5 separate regions of the Homo sapiens genome follow, and all the other regions are linked to region 5. The links are contacts of gene promoters, found by promoter capture Hi-C in blood cells and fetal thymus (Javierre and others, 2016). All regions are on one chromosome and are shown on one strand. Each heading gives the region's core, a stretch centred on a gene start or on the middle of the fragment in contact. The rest is flanking DNA. Distances are from core to core; before and after follow the strand shown.

Region 1 (2,700 bases), core at 128-2,627, 460 kb before region 5:
ATACTGTCTCTTTCGCAATTGGTCAATTTTGCTGACTCAATGAATCAGCTATAGCAGGCACTATTCCTCTCCCACATGGCCTCTAATGATATGGCCAGAGTTGAAAGGATGTTGTAGGGCAAAAACAGCCATATACAATACATAACGAATGGGCATGGCTGTGTTCCAATAAAGCTTCATTTATAAAAACAGCTGGTGGGCCAGAGTTAGCCTGTGAGCCATAGTTTGTCAACCCCAGGTTTAGACTTTTATGACATAACTAAAATATTTTTAAAGCGTATTTGTGTACCACAAAATACTTTTTCCCATTAACCAACTGATTAAATAAGCCTCTGAGGCCTCCCTTAGCATCCTTTCAACTCTGACCATATCATTAGAGGCCATGTGGGAGAGGAATAGTGCCTGCTATAGCTGATTCATTGAGTCAAGACTCAGTGGCCTCAGAGGTGTCTGTTGACCTGTCCTAGATATGGAGTGGCCTTAAAGCAGTGCCTCTGGCCATAGCTTCAGCCGAGCTGGGCTGTAAAGTGGAGAGAAGAAGGACCTGGTGGCACTGACCACATGCAGGCAAGACTCGGTTCTGTGGGACAAGGTGCCCTTTCAATAGTAGAGGTAGAAAACTCACTGGTTTGAAGCCAACTCAGCCGCAGCACTGTGCAGGGGTATGGCAGGTGCTCTGAGGGACCCCTCCTTGAAGTGGTGAGTCCTGGTGACTGTCATGCTGCTGTCCTTGGCCTCAGGGGGCTGCCAGCACTAACCCAGCAGGCCAAAAGGAATCAGGACTGAGTTGATCCCAGTTCCCATAGTCCCCAGCTCCCACAGTCCTTGGAGGTGGTATTTCCTGGGTCCAGGGACTCCAGCCCTGTAACAGGGAGCTGGTTGTATGTGTGACTTGTGGTAACTCATGCAGTAGTTAAGGCTTCTCCTGTGGTGATTTTTCTAGGAGGCTAGTGCAGGACCAGAGAGCATCAGTAATGGGGCTCAACATTAAGTGATTGTTTTCATGCTTTTTTTTTTCCACCCTAGAAATGAGGAGACAGCAGCAAGGCCAACATGATTCACGACCCACTATGATGCTGACCTCAAACAGAAGGTATATTTGTGTTCACACACATCTTTTGGCTGGAGCTGAAGGGCGGTCAGCCCCCAGCAAAAGAGAAAGAAAGAAAAACCATACCTGCTTGGTGGTAAGTTCTTTGCTCCGACTTCTCCCCTGGGGTCCACTTTGAACAATCCGGTGCAAAGGATCGATCAAGGAGTAGCTTTACCAAGGAGCCGCTGCCTTGTTCAGGACAGGAGTATTAGCTTATTCTCTTGCTTTTCTCACTGTGAACACTTGGCTTGCAGGCTGAGGCCGAGATTCCCACTGAAGTAAAGGCAGTGCTTCCTCTTCCCGTCCTAGTCATAGGTTATGATTTCCCCGGATATGAGACAATCTTGTCTCTCACCTATATTTCAGTCCAAGTCAGATGTAGGCACTAAGCGGCTCCATTGCCCCTCCTAAGTCCCAAGTCCAGCACTTGAACTAGCAAATGAAGAGATTACCGTATTTGTTCTCATTATGTTCTCCCTACTTTTTTCTTTCAGGTCTCTTCACTACAAAAACACAGGAAAAGGGGAAGAGAGTGGCAAATATCCGCTTTGTCTAAGTAATTCTGAGTGCATTTCATCAGTCTGAGGGTCTCTGTCCTTTACCACTAGGGGCAACATTAATTTGAACCTAGATCTCCTTATACTTCCTCCTTTGTTGAAACCACCTCCCTGGATAGTGTTACTTGATGTGAAAGTGAGCAAAGTATTGATTTATGACGGTGCCAATCACCAGCATGGTTATGTAAGAGGGGGGCAGGCACACAGGGAGAGGGAAAGGGTGTGAGATGAGGGGGCTGAGCACAGTTCTCGAGAATGTGACCCCACCACTTTGATCTCAGAACAGAAGGCTGACCAGGAGTGGGGAGGATGGACCAGCTGAGGGCTCTTTCCTCTCCCGGGTCCTGCCAGAGGGGAGCTGAAGAGTCCTCACTCTTCAGCCTCAACCTTCTTATTCCCTAGCAGCAGGTGCTCCCAAGTGAACAGAATCAACAAAAGCCGAATGTGGTGGATACCAGGATGTGTTTCTTCTACTTGCTTTGTTTATAAAGATGCTTTATGGCAGGTGAGGGGAGTGGAAGTAACTGCTCCTACCTAAAAGGCAAACAAGTACAAGCCTCTGGCAACAGTAAAGCAGGGGCATGGGCCCCAACAAGAGAGGGAGAGGGAGACCACGATTGAGCAAACAGGTAGAAAAGAGAACCTGGGATTGCCAAAAAATGACCACAGTTGTCTTCAGGTGAACATTTGGACTTCCTTACATTTATTTATTGACTTAAGTTGTTATTATTTTGAAGTACATGCTTTAATCCAGCCCTGGTGAGAAAAGCCAGAATATCTAAGTATGATTTGTTTGTTTTGTTTTTAATTGGTTTCTTCTCTATCCAATTTGCACTTCCCAAGGGATGAGAAAGACTTGAGGCTGGGATTTCCTAGGGGTTGACATTTCTCAAGTGGATGCTTGCCTTGCTGTTTTCAACCAAGCGCAGAATGTAAGGTGCTTACACAGCTCACTGCTGGGGACTTACTGCCAGCAGTGGGGACTGGGACCCACAGCCATAGAGCTCTGTCCTTTTTCCAGTCACATTTCTGATTATCCACATGGGATTC
Region 2 (2,700 bases), core at 50-2,549, 360 kb before region 5:
GGTTTTATCAGGGGTTTCCACTTTTGCATCTTCCTCATTCTCTTTGCCTGCTGCCATCCATGTAAGATGGGTCTTGCTCCTCCTTGCCTTCCACCATGATTGTGAGGCTTCCCCAGCCATGTGGAACTGTAAGGCCAAAGGCCAATTAAACCTCTTTCTTTTGTAAATTGCCCCTTCTTGGGTATGTCTTTATCAGCAGCATGAAAACAGACTAATACAGGGTGTGTGCAATTGACCTTTTTCTTCTTTCTTTCCTTTTTTTTTTTTTTTTTTTAAGGCAGGGTCTCACTTTATCACCCAGGCTGGAGTGCAATGGAGTGACCTCGGCTCACTGCAACCTCCGCCTCCTGGGTTCAAATGACTCTCCCTCAGCTTCCTGAGTAGCTGAGATTATAGATGTGTGCCACCAGGCCTGGCTAATTTTTGTATTTTTAGTAGAGACGGAGTTTCGCCCTGTTGGCCAGGCTGGTCTCGATCTCCTGACCTCAGGTAATCTGCCCACCTCAGCCTCCCAAATTGTGGGGATTACAGGCGTGAGCCACCATACCCAGCCACAACTGACCTTTTTCATCCAGTGATTAGCCTGGCTTTCTCCCACAAGCATGTGGACAAGTTGATTAAGATCAGAGAAGCTGGGCTAGTAAGCTTCAATTGTAATGTTAAATTCATCAGCAAAGCAAAGAGGGTCCTGGGTAACTTTAGGAAATTCCTTGGCTTTAACATGGATTTCAGCCTTATTCCAAGGGCATAGACAATCTAAGGAACCTCAGGATTGTTAGTGGGTCTAACCCTACAGGGACAAGTTTTTATAGGTTGAGGATGGGGATCAGAAGCTGGGAGGGTAGTAGGGGAGGAAGTATCAGGATTGAGTGGGGTTTTCAGAAAGGGAAGGGTAGAGAGGAGAGAGAGGTGGTGGTACCAGGGGAGCAGAAAAACTCTGAGTTTCTAAGGCCTTTTAAAATCTTCCTTTCGTTGTTTATCTGTCTTAGTTAACTTAGTGATGGTATTTTGGAGTTAGGTGATTTTTGAGGCTTGAATACATTTAGATGCTTCAAGATACCACTTAAAGTTTATGCTCCTTTCAGGCAATTTAATTTTGTAGCCATGGCCTTCTAATTTAGTTCTAAGAAAACAAGTTAGGGAGTTCAAGAGATGGCCATTGTAATTCCAAATTTTCTTTAGTGTAATTGGTCCATTGCGATAAAAAAAGAATAGGAAGATGGACCATAATAATTAAGCATATAACAAGCTAGAGTCCCCAATGTTGGGGGGCTATTTTGGTATATCTTTGAATTTGGGGAGTTCATTTGTAAATAAACATATCCAAGTGAGTCAGTGCAAAGCCAAACACACAAAAGCCAAAATAAAAATCAAGCACACAAAATGAACCAAAGAGTAAAGTACATACTCACCGGGAAGAATGACAAAGCCTTCTTCAAATCCCTTACAAATAGAGGCCTAATAAATAGGAGAGGAAAGGCCCTTCATAAAGAAATCCCAAATAAAGCTGAAGAACTCAAATCCAAAAAAAAAAAAAAAAAAAAAAGGGGTGTTTAACCCAAGAAAGACTCACTGGGGTGAAAAAAGATCACCAGCGGAAGTAGGGGGCTCAAGGGGTCTGACAGTGAGTACTGCACACCATAGTTCCAGGGGCCATTATCTTTCCAAGTGAATCTGCTTTGCATCTCACTTCTGACACCATGTAATGTCAATAACAGATAGAGACTAATCTCCAAGCAAAAAGAGTTTATTTTGAAATAAACAAAGAAATAGGATTGCAATCTGGGACAAACATACAAACTGAAGTGGTCTCCAATATATTCAAAAAAAAAAAAGGAAATGGTTGAGGTTTCATTGGGAAAAGAGAAAGGTTATTGGTGCTTGTGGCATTTTGCAGGAGCTGGCAAGCTCTGATTGCTGGGTGGCAAAAGTTACTAGGTAAAACAAGCTTTGAAGTCATGGCAGCCATTTGTTGTCAAACTAGTCTTAAAATTGTAGCAGCTGTTTCATTGGATTGGGCTTGTGGGACAGTTTCTGGAGCAGGCTTTTGAGACCTGAGTGTTTTTTCACCCCTATGGTCCTCTAACTCTAAATTTTAGTTGGGTATAACAGGAATGACTCCATTTGTATAATCAATTTTTCACTTTAGATAATCGACCTGTGGTAGACAGATTCTTAAGGTGGCCCCTGGATCCTGACCTCCTGGTGTTCATGTTCTCATGTGATCCCCTCTTTTCAAGTATTTTAGCCAATAGAATATGCCAAATATGATATGATAGATGTAATTACATGGTTCTCTTACATAAGACTGTAATGCCCATATTTCTGGGTGGCTCTCTATCCCTTGCTGGCTTTGAGGAAGTAAGTGACCATGTTGGGAACCCTATTTGGCAAGGAACTACAGGAGGCCTCTAGGAGCTGAGGGTAGCCTCCAACTGATAGCCAGCAAGAAACCAAAGCCTTTAGTCCTACAATAGCAAGAAACTGAATTCTGTCAACAACATAAGATTGGAAGCATATTCTTCCCCAGTAGAACCACAGATGAGACCACAGTCTCAGCTGAAAGCTTGATTCAAGTCTTGTAAGACCCTAATCAAAGAAGTCACTTAAGTAATGCCCTTGACTACAGAAACTGTGAGATAATAAATATGTATTACCACCAGGTATGTGGTAATATTGTTATACAGCTGTATTAGTCTC
Region 3 (2,700 bases), core at 158-2,657, 330 kb before region 5:
GACATATGCTGCAGCAGCGCCATTCTCTTCTGCTGTCTTCCTTTGCTATGGAAGCTTTTCAGTGAGGTTTTGATCCCCTTTTATGGTGACACAAGTGAGTTTGTTCCTTGGTTTCCTTTGTTCATTTATTCATCCTTACTTTCTTGCTTCCTTCTTTCCTTCTTTTCCCCCTTCCATACATATTTATTCAGAGTCTTGAATAAAGCTCCTGTCTTCCAGCTTTAGGTTGTCAGATAATAGGTGCAATTGTTTTTTTAATTGGTGCTGGTCTTTGGTAATTTGTATACACGCATGTATACCTAGGCATTCATTAAGAGCAAGGCTCAGGAGTGCTGATATCCCATTGGCCAGGACTTATCACTTGCCTATGCCTAGCAGCCAGGGAAGTAGAGAAATGTTGATTTTTTTCTCTGCAGTCATGTGTCCAGTTAAAATCTAGCACCATTAAGGAAGAGAAGAAAGCAGATACTGGAGAACAGACTGCCACACTGGATTTCCCAGGTCTTTGTTCATTCTCATCTTTATCTGCTTCTCAATACCCTTTGCATCCCTCAAAATTCAGCTCAAATGTCATCTCCTTCGAGAGGTCTGCTGCCCAAAGAGAACCAATCTTTCTCTCTCCTCTGTTACTGTTCCACAATAGCACCTATCACATTGACTTGCAGCCAGTTATTTATGTGCCTGTGACTTCCACTAAATTGTGAAATCCTCAAAGACAAAGACCAGATTGTGCCCATCTCTGCATTCCCAGATCTCCAGAAACATGAGAGATGCTCCAGAAATATTTGTTTAGCCAATAAACCTCCAGAAATAATGGAAGGATATCTCCCCCAAATGAACAAGGTGTACCTTAGAGATCTTTTTCATCTTCCCCCTTTGCCTAATAGAGGCACCCCTATTGCCTGATATAACTCACTTTAGAAGAGAGGTTAAAGATGAAACTCTGAGTTTTCTGGGCAGGGGTCGGGTTGGGGGAAGGATAAAGCCCATACTGGATTCTAATCTTCTTCCAGATGTGGCCTCACATCTGAAATACACTCCCTGTCCTCAGGCATCATCAATGACATGCCATCAGTTCTAACAAGTTCTCATGGAATGCAGTCTTTTTACCCTGCAGGGGCAGAGCACTAGGCTAGGTACAGCCACAAGGGTACAAAGGCACCAAGCAGCAATAGTAAGGCTCCTAACCCCTTAAGTTGTGAAACCAAGCCTGTGGTCATGGGCAAGTCAAGAGCAGTTAATGACTTAAGACTTAAGACTTAAGAATATTCATAAAATTAAAGCAAATAATTCGGATTTCTGGCTGCAGCCACAGTAACCCACTCTAGCCAACAGAAGGGGGAAAAAAGGTCTTTATTTAAAAAAATACAAGGATTTCTTATGAAACTCAAGGAAAGACATGCACCTAAGCCTCAGGTAGTGCTAGAAACAAGAACATGTCCTACTAGGACATTTTATGTGATTTCAAGTTTATTTTCTCTATAGCCAATTGGGACCCATGCTTTTCAAAGTCTGAGTTACGTGATAAAAAAAAATTTTTTTTAGTTCCTTCAGGGAGGAGTGTGTTAGTTTTGTTAATAATGCCTGATAATTGTCCCCATCCAAGGCATGATTTACACGCAATTCCATTTCCAAATTCCCAGGGAAGGAGTTTGATTGGCTCAGCTTGAGTCAGGTGTTCACTCTAGGACCATCAGCTGGATAGGGTGCATGGGATCTCATTGTCTAAAGAAACAAGCTGTTATTGTCACCTACGGTTAGAGAGGTCCGGGAAAGGGTCATGCTAGGAGAGTCCACTACCATCTACCCAAAGCTGTAGTAATAGGGTGGCAACATGGTGTTGTGCTAAGAACATAGAATTTTAGTTCCGCCACTTGATCGCTATGTAGCCTTAAGCTCGCCACTCAACCCTTCTGAGCACCAGTTTCCTTAGCTATAAAATACAGAAAAGAATAATCTACCTTGTGGTGTTGTGAACATTATATAAGAGAACACTGGTAAAGTGTCTAGCAGAGTCTGGCATATGGTAGACTTGCCACTTCCTTCAAAGTCTACAAAGTGGTTAAATGTAAGCATGAATCTTCATGTAGCTAATGGGAAGGGAGAAAGGAGAATCTGTGGAGCAGCGGATCCAACAGAACTTTCTGTGATGACAGAAACGTTCTAGATCTATGTTGTACAACATGGTAGTCACAGGCCATATGTGGCTATTGAACACCCATATTGTAATTAGGTAAGGAACTGAATTTTTAATTTTATTTAATTTTAATTAATGTAAATGTAAACTTAAATAGGCAGCAGCATTCTTTTCTCTTTTTTTGAGACAGAATCTTGCTCTTTTGCCCAGGCTGGAGTGCAGTGGTGTGATCTCGGCTCACTGCAACCTCCACCCCCGAGTTCAAGTGATTCTCTTGCCTCAGCCTCCCAAGTAGCTGGGATTACAGGCACCCGCCACCATACCTGGCTAATTTTTGTATTTTTAGTAGAGATGGGGGTTTCACTCTCTTGGCCAGGCTGGTCTCGAACTCCTGACCTTAGGTGATCCACCTGCCTCAGCCTCCCAAAGTGCTGGGATTACAGGTGTGAGCCACTGCGCCGGGCCAGCAGCAGAGTTCTTAAGCAGTAGTTTCTATCTTGGCTACACATTAGAATCACTGGGGAGATGTAAATACTAATAATATCCAGTTCCTACCTAGAGAG
Region 4 (2,700 bases), core at 66-2,565, 370 kb after region 5:
GAGGCAAGACCTTCTATTAGCAAAAAGATGATGACTCACTGAAGGCTCAGATGATCGTTAGCATTTTTAGCCATGAAGTGTTTTTTACTTTAAGATATGTACTGTTTTTATATAATGCTACTGCATACTTAATAGACTACAGTATAGTGTAAATACAACTTATATGCACTGGGAAACCAAAAAATATGTATGACTTGCTTTATTGAGATTTTTACCTTATTTTGGTGGTCTGGAAGCAAATCTCTAATATCTCTGAGGTATGTCTGTATGTATACAGTCAGTCCTCCATATTTGTGGGTTATGCAGCCATGGATTCAACCAACCACAGATTGAAAATATTTTGGGAAAAAATTTTAAAAAAACACAATGATAAAACATACAAATAGAAACAATACTATATTTACATAGCATTTACGTTGTGTTAGGTATTGTATGTAATCTAGAGATGATTTAAGGTATTTGAGAGAATATTTGTAGGTTACATGCAAATGCTGTACCATCTTATATAAGAGACTTAAGCATTTGGGGATTTTGGTGTCTGGGGGGTGTCCTGGAACCAATCCCAGTCGATACTGATGGGTTGAACTAATATGGGTGAAGAACTTAGAATGGTTCCTAACACATAGTAAATAACCAATAAAGGGATAGATATTATTATTAGTCTATTATTATTTTTAAAAGAAATATCACTTGAAGCTTTCTTGAAGTGATGTTTTGTGAAAAAGAATCTGAAAAATAATATTACCACATTTTGTAGGATAGAAAAATCAAATGCTTATGTGTGTGTGTAGTTGTATCTGTGTGATGGAGAATTAGAAAATGTTAAGATACAGTGGCCAACTGGGGAGTACCCTGTCTATAAGTTTCAATTTAGATTAAAAGCCAAAATACTATGATCACCAAACCATACTCATTTGTCAGCCAGCTTTGGTCTATGAATCACCAGTTGCAGTCCCTGATATAAGGTATACATGCATCAAGCATAGCTTAGTTCTATAAAAAGACTGAGTATTTAAAGCTGTGCTATCTGTCATGCTAGCCATTAGCCCCATGTGGACATCTAAATTAAAATTCAGTTCCTCAGTCACATTAGGTACAATTCAGATGCTGAATAGCCACATGTGGCTGCTACTATGTTGGGTGGTGCAGATACAGGACATTTTCATCATTACAGAAAGTTCTATTGGATAGAGCTGACCTAATGGCTTGTAAATATATTCATTCATTACTGTCTACCAACTTACCCATTCCTTGGTGAGAAATCACCAAGCCAGAGCCAGCAGACCTGTAATACACAGTACTGTAAGACTGGTCTTATGCTACTTAGCTGTTAATCTGCTCCCAAGCAGCAGCTTACAAGTTTGTTTTTGAGGTTCCCCCAACCCCATCAAAGCTCTTGGTTTGGTGACTGTAGGCCTCTGGCATTAGTTGATTGTCCAGGTTGAGGAGAAAATTCCATAGGGGAACAGAGTAATTCATTTTCCCACATGACCTTCTGTCTTGACTTCTAACACCATACTTTTAGTTTTGCCTATTATTAACTTGATATAAATGGAATCATTTATACATTATTATAATGTATTATTATAATGTATCTATTATATAGATACATTATTAATAGCTTTCCAGGCAAGATGGGGAAAATTGAGTTGGGGTATATATATGTTTGCGTGTGTGTATTTTTTTCACCCACTAGGAGAAATACATCAGTGAGAAACCTTAACCTTGAATATTCTCTATAAAATATATAAAAGGCATATTACCTTAGGAATTTTTTACTGTGTCATAATACTGTTGTATCTCGTCGTGGCAATCAACATTTGCTATCACTAGAATAATGCTTTATTGTTTATGATAGGAAATAACAAAATTTTAACCTTAATGGTGATTTGAAGAATTTTTACTCTGTTAGAACTTAACCGGAGAAAGCTTGAGCTGGGAGGAGGTGATATAACGGATCAGATCCCTTAGGGCTATTCAGGTTAGTGGATAGGATTGTTTCTCTTTTGCCATTCATGATGGAGCCTGCATGTTACTCCTTAAACAGAGAAAGTATAGAGTGAGTGTGTATGTGCTGTGGTTTCTTTAGAAAGAGTGGTAGCATCAAGTATTATATGGTTAATGGGAAGTAAAAATTTATACTTCCATTCCTGACTCAATAAATATTAGGGATAATTCTTTATATTTTCCCTCTTTATTGAGGGTTTGCATTGGTAATTGTTCCTTCCCCTCTCCAGCAGAACCTAATTTATTCTAGGCCTTGGGCTTGAGGACTAAGGCCAATTTTCATTGGTAAATTAATTTCAAACATTACCCTCCCATTAGAGTAAATTCATCACTTTTCCCTAAGGGAAGGTATGCAGAGGCTTTTTGATCTACCTGGAACAGCTGTTTGCTTAATCCTTTCTCCTGGGGCTGTGTGTTACAGTAGAAAGAAAGTGAACATCATGAGACTTGAATTTTAGTCTTGGCTTTGATAAATTTTTTGGATTACTTTATGCAAGCTTTGGATTACTTTATTACTCCGTTCCTTATTTTGTGTGTAAAATGAAGGTAACAGCAGCAATGCCCACCTAATTTGCAAGAATGTTGAGAATAATACATGCAAAAGTGAAACTGCTTAGAGCCCTCAAAGGAAAGATAACAGATCTCAGGTTGAGGTTTCATCACATTTCAGCTATGCATGCTTCATTGTTCAAG
Region 5 (2,700 bases), core at 83-2,582:
CTTCGGTGTAGAGCAGGGATGGCAGGGATGGCAAGAGCCCCACTTAGGATACCTGGAAAAAGAAATCTCCGCAGCAAAGGGTCCTTGTGCTGACTTTTCTTTTTCATTTACGAGTGTACCCTCTGTCTCCTTGGGGGCCCACCTTCTTATTCCCAGCAGGAAAGGGGAAGGGGGAGGACAGGAAATGTGGAAACCGCGTTAACAGCCTGATTGTGAACCAGCACTGCGACTGAGATGCGAGGAGGGAAGGACAAAAGTCCCTCCCTCGCTTTTCAAAAAGTAAGCCACAAAAGTTATAGAAACATTTTCTATTAAACATCATCTCCATTTTGCAGAGAACCTAAGGCTCCGAGGACTTGCCCAGGGCCATACAGCCGGTGAGCCCCAGGGCTCAGCCACAGCCCAGGTAACGAGGACAGGGCTTGCTCCAGCCACCATTGGCTGCCTCTTCGGCCTCCCTCTCTCAGGTGAGACAGTATGTCAGGTGAGGCAACTGAAACAATGTCCCTCAGTTCGGATGCATCCTCCCTCTTCGTTTCCTGTCATGAGACAGGTTTCTCCTCTTCCTGGATGTGGTTAAAAAAAAAAGAAGAAGAAAAGAAACAAAAGAAAAAAGGAAAGAAACGCAAAGCAAAGCCAAGCCCAACGTCTTGGCTCTCAGGGTTGCACCTCCTTTCTCTACCCGCGGGGTCTGGGCCGGCGGGGTGTGGCCGCAGCCCTGGGGCGCGAGAAGCCCATCCGGGCCCGAGGTGCTGGGCGGCCTGGAGCGCTGGCTGCCCCCAGGGCCGGCGGCTGTCCCTGGGGTTTCCCCGCTTCTGGGCTTTCCCCGCTTCTGGGCTCGGTGGCCGCGCGGGCGGGCGCCAAGTGACTCAGCCGTCCCCGAGGGCGTTCCGGGAAGCGGCCGGGGGCGCGGGCTTTCCTGTCGCCGCAGCGTGTGAGTCCCCAGCGCCGAAAGGGGATCAGAAACCGCTGGGCGGAGCAGCGGGAGGAAGCTGCGGCGCGCAGAGCAGAGTCAGCGCCACCGTCTTTCGAGCTGGAGCGGAGGGAACGTGGCCTTGACGTTGCTGAAGCTGAAGCGCCGGGCGGGCGCCCGGACCCCGGGGCGGGGCAGAAACGAGTCCGTTCCCTACTGCGGGGCGGGGGCAGGGCTGGAACGGGAGTTCAGGAGGGACAAGGACGTGGAAGGAGCCCAGCAGAGGGCACCCGGGACCCCCGCGGCCGGGCCGAGTTTGAAGGGAGCCCCTCTCCCCCTCCCCCTGGCGGAGCCCCCTGTAGGGTCTGACCTGGTGCCCCGCAACAGGAGCGGGAGGAGGAGCAGGCCCAGAGCGGCCGGGCCCCAGCCTAGAGGGGCGCTCGAGGGGAAGCGAGTGAAGTGAGGGCTCCGCCAGAGCAGCACCCCCTTCCCCGCCGTCCCTCCCGGACTGGCCGGTTCTCGTCAGAGATTCCTTTGTCTTCGACGCTGGTCCCTCCACACCAAGGTGGGAGGCTGAGGTGGGAGGTGGCAGAGCGGTGGGAGTGGGAGCAAGGCCGGAGCGTGGGTGGAGGCGCTGGCCGCGGGCTTGCAAGGATGGCACAAGGGAGACATCCAGGACAAACCATGGGGAACACAGCTGCCACTGAGAGAAGCTGCCCGGAGGAGGAAGGGGCTGCAAAGTTCAACCACCAGGCAAGGCAAGTCCACGAACAAAATCCCGGCTCTAAAAACAGAGCAGCAATTGTCACTGTGGGTTAGACGCTTTGAGTTACCTCTATTTTCATTTATGTCTAAGATAAATTCAAGAGACAAGGAGAAAGTCAGGAGGTTAAAATTCCAGCCTCTGGTCCCAGCTCCCTAAAGCCAGCTCCCTTCTTGTCTTTGCCAAAGTTTGCTTCTATGAATCAGTAATTAACCCCCACTTTTTTTCTTATGTCAGAGTTCCTTCAGTCACAACCAAGAGAGTTCTGACTAATAACACACCTTTTAATCCAGCAATTTTACTTCTGGGAGTTTATTCCAAAGAAATATTACATAACAAAAGAGCCATATGCCTCACAATATTCACTGTGGGCTTGTTCATAAAATTAAAACAATCATAACTATAAATGTCCAGTAATGGAGGCAGGGAATAAACTGGCATATTTATATGATAAACTACTATGGGCCGGGCGTGGTGGCTCACGCCTGTAATCCCAGCACTTTGGGAGGCTGAGGCGGGCAGATCACCCGAGGTCAGAAGTTCAAGACCAGCCTGGCCAACATGGCGAAACCCCGTCTCCACTAAAAATACAAAAACAAGTTAGCTGGGCGTGGTGGTGTGGGCCTATAGTTCCAGCTACTTGGGAGGCTGAAGCAGGAAAATCACTTGAGCCCGAGAGGTAGAGGCTTCAATGAGCTGAGATCGTGACACTGCACTCTGGCCTGGGCAACAGAGCGAGTCTCCGTCTCAAAACAAAACAAAACCTACGGAGCCTTAAAATGTTATATGTAGGGTTTTATAACTTGAATAAAGACTTCGGTTATAAGAAAGCAAGACACAAAATCATATATATATATAATATATATATACACACACACAGTGTAATCACAATATGAAAATGTACATAGAAAAAAAACACTTGAAGGAAATCCACCAAAATGTTACATCTTTGGGTGATAGAATTACATACAAGTATTTTTTTCTTTCTAAAACATTTATGTATTTCCCAATTTATCTACAATGA

What was found. The method cuts DNA at HindIII sites, captures the fragments that hold promoters and counts their contacts. A CHiCAGO score of 5 or more calls a contact.
Region 1: the fragment with the promoter of NR1I2 here is called in contact with the fragment with the promoter of ARHGAP31-AS1 in region 5 in 2 of 17 cell types (erythroblasts and neutrophils); the score reaches 12.7 in erythroblasts.
Region 2: a fragment that was not itself captured here is called in contact with the fragment with the promoter of ARHGAP31-AS1 in region 5 in 14 of 17 cell types (megakaryocytes, M0 macrophages, total B cells and 11 more); the score reaches 11.8 in megakaryocytes.
Region 3: a fragment that was not itself captured here is called in contact with the fragment with the promoter of ARHGAP31-AS1 in region 5 in 1 of 17 cell types (erythroblasts); the score reaches 5.5 in erythroblasts.
Region 4: a contact is called between a fragment that was not itself captured here and the fragment with the promoter of ARHGAP31-AS1 in region 5, in 2 of 17 cell types (naive CD4 T cells and activated CD4 T cells). The highest score is 6.3, in naive CD4 T cells.

The regions. Positions count from the first base shown.
Region 1 is chr3:119,780,778-119,783,477 of GRCh38, reverse strand. It overlaps NR1I2 (nuclear receptor subfamily 1 group I member 2), which reads right to left and starts at 1,377. Exons shown (of 9, transcript NM_003889.4): 1 at 1,178-1,377. The HindIII fragment of the contact is 6,406 bases long and covers 177-2,700 here.
Region 2 is chr3:119,683,262-119,685,961 of GRCh38, reverse strand. No RefSeq gene overlaps it. Among named protein-coding and RNA genes, the nearest start is that of COX17, 7.2 kb to the right of the region's middle. The HindIII fragment of the contact is 1,303 bases long and covers 648-1,950 here.
Region 3 is chr3:119,654,947-119,657,646 of GRCh38, reverse strand. The region is part of intron 1 of POPDC2 (popeye domain cAMP effector 2); the gene reads left to right. Among named protein-coding and RNA genes, the nearest start is that of POPDC2, 4.3 kb to the left of the region's middle. The HindIII fragment of the contact is 2,702 bases long and covers 57-2,700 here.
Region 4 is chr3:118,949,528-118,952,227 of GRCh38, reverse strand. The region is part of intron 1 of IGSF11 (immunoglobulin superfamily member 11); the gene reads left to right. Among named protein-coding and RNA genes, the nearest start is that of IGSF11-AS1, 7.8 kb to the right of the region's middle. The HindIII fragment of the contact is 1,233 bases long and covers 699-1,931 here.
Region 5 is chr3:119,321,392-119,324,091 of GRCh38, reverse strand. It overlaps ARHGAP31-AS1 (ARHGAP31 antisense RNA 1), which reads left to right and starts at 1,332. Exons shown (of 2, transcript NR_046748.1): 1 at 1,332-1,478. All of the region lies in intron 1 of ARHGAP31 (Rho GTPase activating protein 31), which reads right to left. RefSeq lists enhancers at 1-803, 804-1,661 and silencers at 625-974, 1,025-1,384. The HindIII fragment of the contact is 4,466 bases long and covers 1-2,700 here.